2 separate regions of the Homo sapiens genome follow, and region 1 is linked to region 2. Evidence: promoter capture Hi-C in 16 types of primary human blood cells and fetal thymus (Javierre and others, 2016). All regions are on one chromosome and are shown on one strand. The core of a region is centred on a gene start or on the middle of the fragment in contact, and the rest is flanking DNA. Distances in the headings are between cores, read along the strand shown.

Region 1 (5,108 bases), core at 1,149-3,648, 140 kb after region 2:
ATCCCATTACTGAGTATGTACCCAAAGAAATATAAATCATTCTATTATAAAGATACATGCACATGTATGTTTATTGCAACACTATTCACAATAGCAAAGACATGGAATCAACCCAAATGCCCATCAATTATAGACTGGATGAAGAAAATGGGCCGGGCACGGTGGTTCACGCCTATAATCCTAACATTTTGGGAGGCAGAGGCGGGTGGATCACCTGAGGTCAGGAGATCGAGACCAGCCTGGCCTACATGGTGAAACCCCCATCTCTACTAAAAATACAAAAAAAAAAAAAAATTAGCCGGGTATGGTGGCAGGTGCCTGTAATCCCGGCTACTTGGGAGGCTGAGGCAGGACAATCACTTGAACCTGGGAAGCGGAGGTTGCAGTGAGCTGAGATCGTGCCATTGCACACCAGCCTGGGCAACAAGATCGAAACTCCGTCTCAAGAAGGAAAGAAAGAAAGAAAGAAAGAAAGAAAGAAAGAAAGAAAGAAAGAAAGAAAGAAAGAAAGAAAGAAAGAAAGAAAGAGAAAGAAAGAAAGAGAAAAAGAAAGGAAGGAAGGAAGGAAGGAAAGAGAGAGAGAGAAAGAAAGGAAGGAAGGAAGGAGAAAAAAAGAAAAGAAAGGAAAGGAAAAGAAAAAAGAAAAAAAAAGGAAGGATATATGGTACATATACACCATGGAATACTATGCAGCCATGAAAAGGAATGAGATCATGTCCTTTGCAGGGACATGGATGAAGCTGGAAGCCATCGTCCTCAGCAAACTAACACAGGAACAGAAAACCAAACACCACATGTTCTCACTCATAAGTGGGAGCTGAACAATGAGAACACATGGACACAGGAAGGCAAATAACACACACCAGTGCCTGTAGGGATGGTGGAGTGGAGGTGGGGAGAGCATCAGAATAAATCACCAGTGCATGCAGGGCTTAATACCTAGGTGATGGGTTGATAGATGCAGCAAACCACCATGGCACACGTTTACCTATGTAACAAACCTGCACGTCCTGCACACGTATCCTGGAACTTAAAATAAAATTAAATTAAAAGAATAAATAAATAAAATAAAGTATCAATAAAATTAAAGAGACAAATAATTCAATGTTAAAATACCAACTACTGACATTTACAAAATTTTAAGACCTTTTGCTTTTAATCATTGTGTAAGTAATTTTTGTAAAATTAAGATCGAGCAACATATCCTAATCTGCCTTTTCAAGTAACAGTAACTTACAGAGTTTTCCATTCACATATTCATTTACTTATTCATTTCATAAGTTATAAAGTGGTAGTAATCATAATGATATGCATATCTCATTTAATCCTCAGAGCAAATCTATGAGCTAGACACTATTGCTATTGCCATTTCTAAATAAAGACATCAAAGCTCACAGATAAGCAACGTGCCTATGGTCACACAGCCAGCAACTAGTAGAGCCAGAACTCAAACACATGCCCAACAGATACCATACTTCTGGCCTCTACTATTCTATTGCTCTATGACTTAGTACCTTGTGGTTTGCTTAACTACTGCCTGCTTTTCAGCCATGTGGGTTTTCTATAGCACTGCCGTAGAAACATTCATACCCTTTTTTATTTATTTATTTTTTATTATACTTTAAGTTCTAAGGTACATGTGCACAACGTGCAGATTTGTTACACATGTATAAATGTGCCATGTTGGTGTGCTGCACCCATTAACTCATCATTTACATTACGTATATCTCCTAATGCTATCACTCCCCGCTCCCCCCACCCCACGACAGGCCCCGGTGTGTGATGTTCCCCACCCTGAGTCCAAGTGTTCTCATTGTTCAATTCGCATCTATGAGTAAGAACATGCGATGTTTGGTTTTCTGTCCTTGCGATAGTTTGCTCAGAATGATGATTTCCAGCTTCATCCATGTCCCTAAAAAGGACATGAACTCATCCATTTTTATGGCTGCATAGTATTCCATGGTGTATATGTGCCACATTTTCTTAATCCAGTCTATACATTGATGGACATTTGGGTTGGTTCCAAATCTTTGCTACTGTGAATAGTGCTGCAGTAAACATACATGTGCATGTGTCTTTATAGCAGCACGATTTATAATCCTTTGGGTATATACCCAGTAATGGGATCACTGGGTCAAATGGTATTTCTAGTTCTAGATCCTTGAGGAATTGCCGCACTGTCTTCCACAATGGCTGAACTAGTTTACGTCCCACCAACAGTGTAAAAGTGTTCCTATTTCTCCACACCCTCTCCAGCACCTGTTGTTTCCTGACTTTTTAATGATTGCCATTCTAACTGGTGTGAGATGGTATCTCATTGTGGTTTTGATTTGCATTTCTCTGATGACCAGTGATGATGAGCATTTTTTCCATGTGTCTTTTGGCTGCATAAATGTCTTCTTTTGAGAAGTGTCTGTTCATATCCTTTGCCCACTTTTTGTTGGGGTTGTTTGTTTTTTTCTTGTAAATTTGTTTAAGTCCTTTGTAGATTCTGGATATTAGCCCTTTGTCAGATGGGTAGATTGTAAAAATTTTCTCCCATTCTGTAGGTTGTCTGTTCACTCTGATGGTAGTTTCTTTTGCTGTGCAGAAGCTCTTTAGTTTAATTAGATCCCATTTGTCAATTTTGGCTTTTATTGCCATTGCTTTTGGTGTTTTAGTCATGAAGTCCTTGCCCATGCCTATGTCCTGAATGGTCATACCATTTTTTTTTTTAAGGAAAGAAGTCATAAAGAGAAGAGATGTAGCTATTTCTTTGGCTATATCCCAAAGAGAGTATAATTCATTTAATCCTCCCCATAATGATTCCACTGATTTTCAAGGTCCCCAAATATCTGTCCACATACCAGTTTCTCAACGGACCGCCAACACGGAGGATTCTTTTTCTCAACAGTTTATACCTCCAACCTCAAGGTAACTAATGGTAACAGTTGATGTGTATCCTTCCACACATTTTTCTATTTTGGACAAATACATTTGTGCATATGTAAGCCTTTTCCTTTTTCCTTTTTAAATATTTGAATGTGCTGGGTGCCATGGCTTGTACCTATAATTTCAGCTACTTGGGAGACTGAGGCAGGAGGATGACTTGAGCCCAGAAGTTTAAGGCTGCAGTGAGCTCTGATCATGCCACAACACACCAGCCCAGGCAACAGAGCAAGACCCCATCTCTGAGGGAAAAAAAAATGTTGAATAGATTGAACTATGCACATTATAGTACAAATTTTTGATTTCCCTCAATATATCTCGAATATTACTAAGGCAATACATATAGCACTAATTCACTATTTTTATTAGTGTGAATATATAAAAATTTTTCATTTTTTCCATCTTATTGGTCATTCGAGTTGCTTCCAAAATTTTTGCCCAAATAATGCTTCAGTAAACATCCTTATATGAATAGCTTTATATTCTGGTACTTTCATTTATTTAGGAGAGACTTCAGGAAGAACAATTCCTGGGTAAAGGGGTATCATATTTTTTATTTTGGTGCATACTGCTACGTTTCCTTCCCCAAAACTTGTAGTAACTCAAAGTCTTAACAGCAACATATCGCAATGTCTATTGCACAATATCTTTGTCAGCACTGAATGCTACCAATATTTTAAATATTTCCCCCAATATTTTCCCCCCAAAATGGTATCTTATTATTATTATTTTTTGAGATGGAGTCTCGCTCTGTTGCCCAGGCTGAAGTGCAGTGGCACAATCTCGGCTGACTGCAACCTCCATCTCCTGGGTTCAAGTAATTTTTGTGCCTCAGCATCCTGAGTAGCTGGGATTACAGGCGCATGCCACTCTGCCCAGCTAATTTTTTAATTTTTAGTAGAGATGCAGGTTTCACCATTTTGGCCAGGCTGGTCTCAAACTCCTGGCCTAAAATGATCCACCCACCTTGGCATCCCAAAATGCTGGGATTAGAAGTGTGAGCCACCGCGCCCGCCCAAGAGTCAATATCTCATTGTTTTGATAGGGACTTCCCTGATCACCAAGGAGGTTGAATATGTTTGTTAGCCCTTTGGAGAACATTCTCTATTATGAAGCTATTTTTATTCATAAACACTTTATAATGTGTTGCTCTGTTTGAAAATTCATGTAAGAGAAACAACAATTTTTATAAATTTATAAATTTAAAAGTGCGTGTTTCAGATGGAGATAAGAGTTGTATAGAGTTAATCGTGGAGATTTTCTATTTATTGTTTAAAATGTTTTGTTAATGGATCTCACTACTCTACACACACGAACACACATGAGCAAACACACATACACACACACTCAGCTCATCTCTAGCTTCTCCTTTGTTCTTGCCCTTTGCTCTGCTTCTCTCTTCCTCTATAGCAGACCCTGTTGGTGCCCTACCCTTGTCCCCTGGCACCAACCATGCCAGTATGTGCCTCCAGGATCTTACTGACTCTCCACCCAATGGTCATTTCTTGACCCTTGAGGGACAGGCCAGGTGGATGGGAGATGAAGTATAAATGCCCTAGCTTCCTCCCTGCTGGGGGAGAGAGATAGTTTTGAGATGTGTGTGATATGGCCTCCCAGAACCCCCAGTAAAATTGTCTCAATTGCTCAGAAACGCACCCTGTATTGGCTTCCCCCCTTTTTCTGTATTACTTCACCATCTCCTTGTTCATGCTTCCTCAGGAATATTACTGAACCTCTACTTTTAGCCAGGCACTTTGTGAACTGCTGAATCCACACCAATGAAGAAGATGCCCAAGGTCCTTGACCATATGATCTTAGCCACATGATTTCCAATTCCTGTCCTTCCAAATTTGTTGAAGAGCATCAACAAGTGCAGGTTGCGGAAAACAGCTTCTGCAGAGACCCAATATTATTCATAAAGAGGCCTAACATTCAAACAGTATCAGCATGAATTCAGAGGGGTGGAAAACTCGGAATCTGCTCCTTTTCCTATTCTTTGTTAGAAATCTGATATGGGCTGGGCGTGGTGGCTCACACCTGTAATCCCAGTGCTTTGAGAGGCTGAGATGGGAGGACTGCTTAAGGCCAGGAATTCGAGACCAGCCTGAGCAACATGGCAAGACCCTATCTCTATAAAAAAATTAAAAACTTGGCCAGGCATGGTGGTGCGCATCTGTAGT
Region 2 (5,084 bases), core at 1,722-4,221:
CTACCTGATCCAGTCATTTGCTAGTTCTATGAACTTAAGAGAAAATAGCCAGAAACTGCTACACTCTTCACACTGTTGCTGGGCTTTCACCAAACAAGCAATGTGGATCCTGTAATGGCGTTTCCCCTCCCTGCATCAGTCACTCAGAAGCATATGAAGGTTCTAGTGACATACATTTCAGAAACTCTTGTTTTTAACTCTCATTTACCCTTCTTGGGCCATTTGATTTTGCACTTTATTTTTAAATGCCTCCAATCCCCACCCTCCACCCTTTTTTTTTTTTTTTTCACATGAGGCTGATCCTAAAAACTAATTAATCATAAACGTACCTCTTCCATCAGGCCTCCCTTTACTTCCCTAGGCAGAAGCTCTTGACTTTTTTGGTAAGCCCTGCTCTTTCTAAGTGTTCAACAAATGCTTCTTAAATTAATAATAACATTGAAGAGTCCACAACTTAACTGGCCAATATCAGAAACATTCAAATGCTGTTAGCTAAATCTGGACCCAATCAAAACTAAATTTTATTATGTGTTTTCAGGATGTTGTCTGATAACAGTAATATTTTTAATGTGTTGAGTGATATTTTTAATTTGTTAGGCACATCGCAATCTTTTACATTTATCTGCATATATATCATTTGGTCCTCACTGCATCCTTGTCAAGTTGTTTTGGCAGGCATTATTTTCTATTGTATCTGTGGGAACACAGACCCAGCAGGTCTGTGGTGGAAGAGCCAGTTAGAAACCAAGACCTCCACTTCCAACCCAGCTATCCTTTCATTCTAACACACTCCCTCTGGTAAATTCTAGAAACAGGCAGCAAAACAGCCAAAAACTAAAGCAGCTTACTTTTTCATATGTAATATGTAAATGAATAGCAATGGCAAATGACAATGGGAATGTCTATTAAGAAATATATAATAAGCCTGGCGCAGTGGCTCACTCCTGTAAATACCAGCACTTTGGGAGGCCGAGGCAGGCGGATCACTTGAGGTCAGGAGTTCGAGACCAGCCTGGCCAATATGGTGAAACCCCGTCTCTACTAAAAATACAAAAATTAGCCGGGCGTGGTGGCAGGCACGTGTAGTCCCAGCTATTCAGGAGGCTGAGGCAAGGGAATCGCTTGAACCCAGGAGGCAGAGGTTGCAGTGAGCCGAGATCACCACATTGCCCTCCAGCCTGGGTGACAGAGCGAGACTCTGTCTCAAAAAAAAAAAAAAGAAAAGAAATACATAATAAGCATACCAATCCATTGACAAGATATTTTAAAATGTAGGCTCGATCAAATTTTTGTTTTTAAAGGATGCATGAGCCTGGCCAACATGGTGAAACCTTGTATCTACTAAAAACACAAAAGTGAGTCGGCCGTGGTGGCACGCGCCTGTAATCCCAGCTACTTGGAAGGCTGAGGCAGAAGAATCGCTTGAACCCTGAAGGCGGAGGTTGCAGTGAGCCGAGATCGAGCCACGGCACGGCACTCCAGCCTGGGTGACAGAGTAAACCCCTGTCTCAAAAACAACAACAAAATGGATGCATGCATGGAGGGCATGAAATATTTCCACTGTATTTCTGTTAATCCAACCTCAACCTCCATGAGTCCTCCACAAGGCCTACACTCAAATGATTATAAAGGGACTTCACTATTTGGAGCAGAGAATAGAAAGTAATGTCACAGAATGTGCAATGTAATATTTATCCCACGTAGTATAAACTATAGATGGGAGTGAACTCCACTCTGCCCCCTATCCCTCCACACTCAGCCCAAAGGGTGCTTCTGATGAACAGCTATCCAAAGCCTATATTTACTCCTTATTTTGTACAAAGGTCAAATGTAATTATTGCTAATAAAATGTTGGGGTTTTTTTAATCCCTAGGTTGTGATGACAAAAAAATTATTGCCTTGATAACATTCCAGTTTGTTTTTCTTGAAAAAGTCGATGAAGCAAAGAGGAAGTTACCTCTTAACTCATCTTTGATCAGTGCTACCGGTCATTTCAAGATCACTAGCTCAACCTTCCAGAAACGAACGGTTACGAAAGTATTCAAAGGGCGTCTCGGGCTTGGCACAAGTCCCTGTGCCAGGCAGGACGGAGATGGGGGTGTTCAGTCCCCAGTGTGCAAAGCACCCGACCGCGGGTCCGTCTCACAGGTTGGCGCCGCATGGGATAGCGGCTGGGCAGGCGCCCTCCGGCCCGTCCGCGGCCGTGGGGAGGATCTGCGCGGACATAGGACCTGGGGCAGTGACCTTAACAGCCCCTCCGCTGCCCAGGGGAGGCTTGGGATGGTCACGGGATTGGGATAGTGGCGTGACAGTCTCCAGGCGGCCCAGGGCGGACACCGCCCGGGGCAGTGGCCAGTCCGCCCCTCCGGGGCCCGGGAGAGGCTCAGCCGCGCGTGGGTCCGCCCTTCCCCCGGCGCCTCCAGCGACCCGCCCGCAGCGCATCTGGGGCCCGGCTCGGGCGATCGGCCAGCCCTACCTCTTCGGTGGCCGTGGGACAGTAGGAGATGAGCACGAGCGTGGTGACCACGTTGACGGCGAGCCCCAGCAGGGTGATGGAGTTGGGGGCCATCCAGAGCGGGATCCACTGGAGCAGCCAGGTCCAGTAGAGCTGCAGCGGCGGCTCGAGCAGCGAGACGCCCGCCGCGCTGTAGCGGTGCTCCTCCAGTCGCCGCAGCTGCGCCGCGCTCAGCGGCTCGCTCAGCGCCCTCAGCCAGCGCGGCGCGGACCCGGCCCCGGCGCCTGCCGCCATGGCCGCCTGAGGGCCCCGCCGCCGCCACCGAGCGCAGCCCGCGCCTGGCGCTGGGGGCAGGGAGAGGTGGAGGGAGAGGCTGGCGGCCGGGTCCTGCGACTGCCGGGCTGGACTCACCGGTCGGGCCCGCACGGCGGAGGTCGAGGTCAGGCCGGCCTGCCCGGCTGCCGGGGCCCCAGCCCCAGAAGCTGTGGGGCCGCGGCTGCGGCTCGCGGGTGGGGCGGGGCCTCGGGGAGGGGTCCGGCTGGGGGCGGGGCGGAGGGGGTCCTGCTAGGGGCGGGGAGGCGGGTGCCGCGCTCGCGGGTCACCCTCGGCGCCCGCCAACGGCAACTTGTTATCGGCGATCAAGGTCCTTGACTCCCCAGGGGCCGGCTGCACTGCGCCTGAGGTCTGATGTCTTAACCCACGGCGTCGGATTACGCCCTGAGGTCGTCTCCTCGCGGGCTGCACCACGACCGAGCCGGTTCCTCTCCTAGGGGTCGGAACACGACTCCGGTCGCCCAGTGTTAGCCACTGCAGGACCACGCTGCCCGCAGAGCCTGGGGGTTTTCGTGTGAGAACACAGTTTTGCAGGGCTCGGGTCACGGGGGTGACGGCCCCATCTGTCCTGCTTGGTAAAACACACAAGCACAATTCTCCCTTTCTGTACGGAGGAAGGCGGCCCTGCCATGTATTCGCTCTAGAGACCCATCACTGCGGATTCAGAGACCAAGGTTTTGAAACTGAAAATCAGGGCTTAGAAACACTAACAAGGAGACCGAATGGCTGAAACCCCGATACCTATTTTCTTCAGCGCATTTGATACCAACAAGGGTGAATATTTTTACACATACTCTTCCCTGGAATAAAGGGCAGGAGTGTCCTCCCCCTGCAAGGGGGAACAGGCTGGCTTGCCACACGCATTGGTAGGTCACCGGCCCCTTATCTCACAGTGCACTCACTTGGACAGGGGACATCTGTCATAAACACGTTCTGTTGCACAACCTGAGACAGGCCTGTCACTTGCTTTGCTCTTCACTTCATGGCTCTGATCTGCACGCACTTTCTAAGGCCTAGGACAAGCCAGAAATTGCTTCCAAGACACTTGTGTGGCGCAACCTCTATCGGCAAGTGCAGTTTGCCTCACGGGCTTCGTCAAACACTTGGCACAGGGGTCCACGAACTGCTGCCTGTGTGCCAGACCCAGCCCACCACCTGTTTTCCTACAGCCCTCCAGCTAAGTATGGTTTTGACATTTTTAAATGATTGGAAAAAATCAAAAGAATACAATTTTGTGTTGTGAAATTATATGAAATTCAAAGTTCAGTGCCACGAATAAAGCCATGTTTATTCCTTACCTATTGTTTGGCTGCCTTCATGCTACAAGGGCAGCAGAATTCAGTTGTGACAGACCGTATGGCTGGCAAAGCCTGGACTATGTCCTACTAGGCCCTTTAAGGAAAAAACTGGCAACCACTGCCTTAGAGCAATGAGGGTCTCTACAGACCAAGCGTATATGTCTTAGGAATATGGATCTCCTCATCTTTAGTGTGAAAAACGATGCTGACAAATGCAGGAAAGGAAATGGAATGATGGAGATCCACTTTTAACAATGCTGGTTTATGTGCAGTGAACTTGACAGTAACTACTTTTTAATTTACCGATGCCATGAACAGTCCAAGGAAAAAATCCTTTTCTAGATTAGCCGATTTCACTGTATTAAAGATAATTTTTAATGTACATCAAAAGACGTCATCAAGAGAATGAAAAGACAAGCCATAAACTGGGAAAAGGTATTTCCCTCAAAACCCACAATGAGTAGAACCCAGATTATGTAAAGAACTCCTAAAAATCAATCAGAATAAAAAATAATCAACTGGGCTATGTTCTGTTTCTATAGGAGAAGCCCTGGAACATGGTAATGTTCCAGGGTGCACTTATGAACATGAGTGAATTGCACAAGCATATGTTGACTGAAAAAAAAAAAGAAGCAGGTGTATTAGTCAGCTTGGATTGTCATAACAAAATACCACAGACTGAATAGCTTAGACAACAGGAATTTATTTCTCTCTCACATAAAAGAAGTACAGAATTGGCACTCCAAGACTGGTACGATGTTTCCATGGTCATCAGGAACTCAGGCTTTTCTGTCTCTCTGCTCCAATATCCTCTCTGACTTGTATCTATAAGGCCATCTCATGATTCAGAATGGCTGGTGAAGCTCCAGTCATCTTATTTGTGTTTCAAGCAGCAGGAAGGAGTAAGAGGACAGGAAAAACAAAAAGTAGATATCACTGGCTGGTGAGCAAACTGGGGTGCCTCTCCAAAACTCCCAAACAACACTTCTCCATACAGT

What was found. The method cuts DNA at HindIII sites, captures the fragments that hold promoters and counts their contacts. A CHiCAGO score of 5 or more calls a contact.
Region 1: a contact is called between a fragment that was not itself captured here and the fragment with the promoter of CHPT1 in region 2, in 3 of 17 cell types (naive B cells, total B cells and monocytes). The highest score is 6.5, in naive B cells.

Annotation. Positions count from the first base shown.
Region 1 is chr12:101,555,752-101,560,859 of GRCh38, reverse strand. No RefSeq gene overlaps it. Among named protein-coding and RNA genes, the nearest start is that of MYBPC1, 37 kb to the left of the region's middle. The HindIII fragment of the contact is 6,553 bases long and covers 1-5,108 here.
Region 2 is chr12:101,695,527-101,700,610 of GRCh38, reverse strand. CHPT1 (choline phosphotransferase 1) reads right to left here and starts at 2,971. Exons shown (of 9, transcript NM_020244.3): 1 at 2,477-2,971. The coding sequence starts at 2,749. It also overlaps a transcript of MYBPC1 not described here. RefSeq lists silencers at 2,238-2,427, 2,688-3,027 and an enhancer at 3,248-3,497. The HindIII fragment of the contact is 18,657 bases long and covers 1-5,084 here.